Linked DNA regions of Homo sapiens: region 2 is linked to region 1. Evidence: promoter capture Hi-C in 16 types of primary human blood cells and fetal thymus (Javierre and others, 2016). All regions are on one chromosome and are shown on one strand. Each heading gives the region's core, a stretch centred on a gene start or on the middle of the fragment in contact. The rest is flanking DNA. Distances are from core to core; before and after follow the strand shown.

Region 1 (2,700 bases), core at 115-2,614:
TGGGGCAGAGGTCCTCCTCACTGGTGGGCTGCAGGGAGGAGAGTGAAGGGTGGGCTGGAGTTGGATGCCTGGCTATGTGGATGTCCGTTGTGCCTGTGTAGGAGTGCACACATATTCAAGTGGCATGGACCTGTGCACCGTGTTCCCACTCACCAGGGAGGCAGCTGCTGCCTGGGCAGATGCAGAGGTCAGGTGCGCCAGCATCTGTTCCACTTGGGCCAGCTCATCGGCACTGATATAATCCGCATCTGGGGAGTGGTAGGTAGTGTCAAGTCAGAGGTAGCTGAGGATGTGATGCCTCTTGAATATTCCCAGCCTAGGACTTTGCTGTTCTTAAGGCTCCTGACCCGACCCAGCCCCAGATTTCCCTGACCTGCCCCACCAGCCCACTCACAGCTCTGCAGGGAGAAGCGCTTCCGGTCAGGGGCTGGCAGAGCAGTGCCAGGTGCTGGGGGCTCTGGCTGTCCCAGGAGATAGCATATTGAGCGTAGCTGGAAGCAGGGATCTGCCAGGAGCACTGATGTGGCTTGCTCTCTCCTAGGTAGGGGAGGGTGCAAGGGCAGTCAGAAGGCTTGGGGCCTGGCTAAAAGTCTCTCTTGGGATTGCCAATGAGGAGTGCCATGGCTCGTACATGATCACCCCCCCTGCATCCTTTCCGTCTCCCTGCTTCCCAAACCCCAAGTCCTGTATTCTAGTAAGGTGCCACACAGCCTGTTTTTTTTTTTTTTTTCTTGAGACGAGTCTCGCTCTGTTGCCCAGGCTGGAGTGCGATGGCACGATCTCGGCTCACTGCAACCTCCACCTCCCGGGTTCAAGTGATTCTCCTGCTTTAGCCTCCCGAGTAGCTGGAATTGCAGACGCCCACCACCACGCCCGGCTAATTGTTGTATTTTTAGTAGAGACAGGGTTTCACCAGGTTGGCCAGGCTGGTCTCGAATTCCTGACCTCAGGTGATCCACCTGCCTTGGCTTCCCAAAGTGCTGGGATTACAGGCGTGAGCCACCGCGCCCGGCCTGGGGTACCACTTTAAGAAGGCTCAGGCGAACCACCTTAAGATAGTGAGAGTCTGCCTGCCCCATAATATTATCAGTCCTTCAAAGTCACTTCAAATAAACACTAACAGCAGCTTGGAGACATTCTTCCAGACTCCCCCTTTTACTCCCCGAGGAAAAACGAGCGGCGGAGAGCTGCCAGCCAAAGGCTGACGGGGACTTTGGGGTTGGCCTTGCTCCCCATCTGGCGGTCATGCGGGGCCATTGGGCACAAAGGGATGTAGCCGCCCCGCCTCCTCAAACGGGAACCAATAGGAGCCCGGGCCCCGCCCCTGGGGGGAGTATTTAGGAGCCGATCAGGAACTCGCTTGGAGAGGGCTAGCGAAGCCGAAGGGAGCGCGGCTAAGAGTGCCGCACCGCCTCACAACCTGGGAACCGGAGAGTAGGGGCCGTCGGCTGGCAAGAACCCGCCGTGCCTCCTCGGCAAGGGCCATCCGGTGCCACCCATGTCGCACTAGAGCAGAAGAGGGTGAGTCCTGGAACTGCAACCTGCACAGAGCTGCTCTGTACTGTCCCTGGTGGTCGCCGCCATGACCTGGTTGGTGCTGCTGGGGACACTGCTCTGCATGCTGCGCGTTGGGTTAGGCACCCCGGACTCCGAGGGTTTCCCGCCCCGTGCGCTCCACAACTGCCCCTACAAATGTATCTGCGCTGCCGACCTGCTAAGCTGCACTGGCCTAGGGCTGCAGGACGTGCCAGCCGAGTTACCTGCCGCTACTGCGGACCTCGACCTGAGCCACAACGCGCTCCAGCGCCTGCGCCCCGGCTGGTTGGCGCCCCTCTTCCAGCTGCGCGCCCTGCACCTAGACCACAACGAACTAGATGCGCTGGGTCGCGGCGTCTTCGTCAACGCCAGCGGCCTGAGGCTGCTCGATCTATCATCTAACACGTTGCGGGCGCTTGGCCGCCACGACCTCGACGGGCTGGGGGCGCTGGAGAAGCTGCTTCTGTTCAATAACCGCTTGGTGCACTTGGACGAGCATGCCTTCCACGGCCTGCGCGCGCTCAGCCATCTCTACCTGGGCTGCAACGAACTCGCCTCGTTCTCCTTCGACCACCTGCACGGTCTGAGCGCCACCCACCTGCTTACTCTGGACCTCTCCTCCAACCGGCTGGGACACATCTCCGTACCTGAGCTGGCCGCGCTGCCGGCCTTCCTCAAGAACGGCCTCTACTTGCACAACAACCCTTTGCCTTGCGACTGCCGCCTCTACCACCTGCTACAGCGCTGGCACCAGCGGGGCCTGAGCGCCGTGCGCGACTTTGCGCGCGAGTACGTATGCTTGGCCTTCAAGGTACCCGCGTCCCGCGTGCGCTTCTTCCAGCACAGCCGCGTCTTTGAGAACTGCTCGTCGGCCCCAGCTCTTGGCCTAGAGCGGCCGGAAGAGCACCTGTACGCGCTGGTGGGTCGGTCCCTGAGGCTTTACTGCAACACCAGCGTCCCGGCCATGCGCATTGCCTGGGTTTCGCCGCAGCAGGAGCTTCTCAGGGCGCCAGGATCCCGCGATGGCAGCATCGCGGTGCTGGCCGACGGCAGCTTGGCCATAGGCAACGTACAGGAGCAGCATGCGGGACTCTTCGTGTGCCTGGCCACTGGGCCCCGCCTGCACCACAACCAGACGCACGAGTACAACGTGAGCGTGCACTT
Region 2 (2,790 bases), core at 193-2,692, 380 kb before region 1:
CTTTGTATACATTAAAATTGTGGAGACTTTTAAATGTCTTACAGGTTTTAGTTTCTTAGGAGTTTTAAACTCCTAGGTTAGTCATTCTGACATATCCACTGCATCAAACAATGCTATCATGTCAAGAAAGCAGACTCACATGAACCTTGTATATGTTCTGGATTTACTAGGATGGTATCTATGGTATGAAATGAATGAAGCTCTACTTTTAATAAAATCAGGCTGTGATTTCTGGGTTAGGAAAATGAGAGGCTTAAAAACTTTAACAAATCAGTCAGTCAAAGTGATACCCTCATTAGTGAGTCTTGTTATAAATGGCAATATTACCAATCAAAGAATGTAACTTTTATTCATGGATTCATGGATGACTCAAATCACAGAATGCTGCAGAAAAGCAAGATAATGAGTCAAGCAAACTTCCCAGAATGCACTTGGTTAAAGGCATTCAATAATGTGCCTTGGAGTTCTTGCAAAAAATGTTATTTAAGTGCCAAGCACTGAACATTATCTTGACAAACTGAAGAACACTTCAGTTAACACTACCTCGAAGAACCATCAATGACTTGCTTTGAACAGACTATAAAAGGCATTCTCAAGGAGATTAGAATGTTAATGCCACTCTAACTAGATTAGACAGCTGCAGGACACCACTCCCAGGCTAATCTCATCAGACTTATTGTTCATAAATTCCACTAAGTCCTTAAATATTCCCTGAAGACCGGTCTGAGCAGTTACGCCTCCAGGAGGCTTTGTGGTCTTCAGGCAGAAATAAGGAATTACTTATAAAAATGCCGCCACAGACTTTCACTATGTTCTCTTCACTGTCAAATGGAGAGTTTGATATACTAAGCTTACTCTCAATGGACATAATAGGAATATAACAAACTAGAAAAAAGGGAAACATTAAGATGTTTTAGTGATTACCAGACAGGTATTCAGTAGTTAACAAAGCCCTGCCAGGTAGGTAGCCATGTTTAAAGGCAGAACAAATTCTATAATGAAGTCCTTGGTACTGTACTTATTCTAGTAACATCAATTTTAATATATACAAAGCTTTTTTTTTAAAAAAAAGTCACTCCTTTGGAACAAACCACTCCTTCAACCTTTTTTTAAAATTGTACAGACTTGTTCCATTTTCATGAATATCTAGACTTGGTGAGTGAAGCAACCTGATTGGCTTCCATCCAGCTGGTAGCATCTTGCAAGTGATAAAACTCCACGAAGGCGAAACCACGGCTTACACCTAGAGACAGCATTCAGATATAGACGGGATACTTGTGTTAGTCAGTTCCTTTATAACAGGTGAATCTCTCTCCCACTGCTTCAACACTGCGTGACAAAGCCAATTGGGAAGCAGCTTTACAAATGTGACTTGACTTGGGGATCTTCTTGATACTTTGCCATGGCAAGGAACAAGCCGCCTGAACTAAATGCCACTCCATTTGATTCCACGCTTAAAGTAACCATGCAACCGACTATAGTCAAAAAAAAAAAGGAGTTTATAAATCATTACTTACCTAAGGAAAAAAAAGTCCCTAAAACAAAGTTTAAAAAAGTTCCTCAGATGCTAACATGGTTTTCAAAGAGTCACATTCCTTAGCCATGGCAAACCTTTCATTCTGAATTCATGTGCTTGAAGACTGGGGGAATCAGGATGTTCTTTAGGGACTGAGGTGGGAATGGGGAAGAGAACAATAATATCAGGAACTAAGCAAGCTCTCACCTGTTTTCCTCTTCATCAGCCTCACATCCGCAGGCTGAGGGCCTTCGAAGGACTCCATCATTTCTCGAATCTGCACAGGGTTTTACATTATTTACAGTTAAAGCTTTTGCCACACACTATTCCCCATGGAATAGGAATTACATCAACTGTTTAATTAGCCAAGTTTTTTTTTTTTTTAAGATGGGAGTCTCTGTCTCTCACTCACTTGATTGCCCAGGCTGGAGTGCAGTGGCATGATCTCAGCTCACTGCAACCACCACCTCCTGGGTTCAAGCAATTCTCCTGCCTCAGCCTCCCGAGTAGCTGGGATTATAGGTGTGCACCACCATGCGTGACTGATTTTTTTTTTTTTTTGAGACGGAGTCTCGCTCTGTCACCCAGGCTGGAGTACAGTGACGTGATCTCGGCTCACTTCAACCTCCACCTCCTGGATTCAAGCGATTCTTCTGCCTCAGCCTCCCAGGTAGCTGGGATTACAGGCATCCACCACCACATCCAGCTAATTTTTGTATTTTTAGTAGAGACGGGGTTTCACTGTGTTGGACAGGCTAGTCTCGAACTCCTGGCCTCAAGTGATATGCCAGCCTCCCATATCATTACATGCATGACCCACCATGCCTGGCCTAATTAGCCAAGTTTTTATCTTCTATCACCAAAATGCAATTTTCCTAAAAGGCACAAAAAAGAGAGAACATTTCTCATAGAAATTAATGCATTATAACAGCACTGAAGGCATTCATTAAATGTTGCATGGGAATTTCCCTCAGGTGTAATTAATTTTTCCTTTTTTTTTTTTGAGACAGGGCCTAGCTCTGACACCCAGGCTGAAGTGCACTGGTGTGATCTCAGCTCACTGCAACCTCTGCCTTCCTGGACTCAAGTGATCCTCCCACCTCAGCCTCCTAAGTAGCTGGGACTACAAATGCACACCACCACACCTGGTTAATTTTTGTATTTTTTGTAGAGACAGAGTTTTGCCACGTTGCCCAGGCTGGTCTGGAACTCCTGGGCTCAAGCGATCCGGCCACCTTGGCCTCCCAAAGTGCTAGGATTACAGGAGTGAGCCA

Evidence for each region. The method cuts DNA at HindIII sites, captures the fragments that hold promoters and counts their contacts. A CHiCAGO score of 5 or more calls a contact.
Region 2: a contact is called between a fragment that was not itself captured here and the fragment with the promoter of AMIGO3 in region 1, in 1 of 17 cell types (endothelial precursors). The highest score is 5.9, in endothelial precursors.

Annotation. Positions count from the first base shown.
Region 1 is chr3:49,718,348-49,721,047 of GRCh38, reverse strand. It overlaps AMIGO3 (adhesion molecule with Ig like domain 3), which reads left to right and starts at 1,364. Exons shown (of 1, transcript NM_198722.3): 1 at 1,364-2,700. The coding sequence starts at 1,583. It overlaps RNF123 (ring finger protein 123), which reads right to left. Exons shown (of 39, transcript NM_022064.5): 36 at 395-537; 37 at 154-248; 38 at 1-28. GMPPB (GDP-mannose pyrophosphorylase B) reads left to right here. Exons shown (of 9, transcript NM_021971.4): 9 at 1-1,132. RefSeq lists a silencer at 1-5 and enhancers at 1,000-1,229, 2,000-2,109, 1,591-2,398. The HindIII fragment of the contact is 8,800 bases long and covers 1-2,700 here.
Region 2 is chr3:50,098,985-50,101,774 of GRCh38, reverse strand. It overlaps RBM5 (RNA binding motif protein 5), which reads right to left. Exons shown (of 25, transcript NM_005778.4): 5 at 1,724-1,793; 6 at 1,170-1,243. It overlaps RBM5-AS1 (RBM5 antisense RNA 1), which reads left to right and starts at 787. Exons shown (of 1, transcript NR_045388.1): 1 at 787-2,172. RefSeq lists a silencer at 1,132-1,332. The HindIII fragment of the contact is 773 bases long and covers 1,056-1,828 here.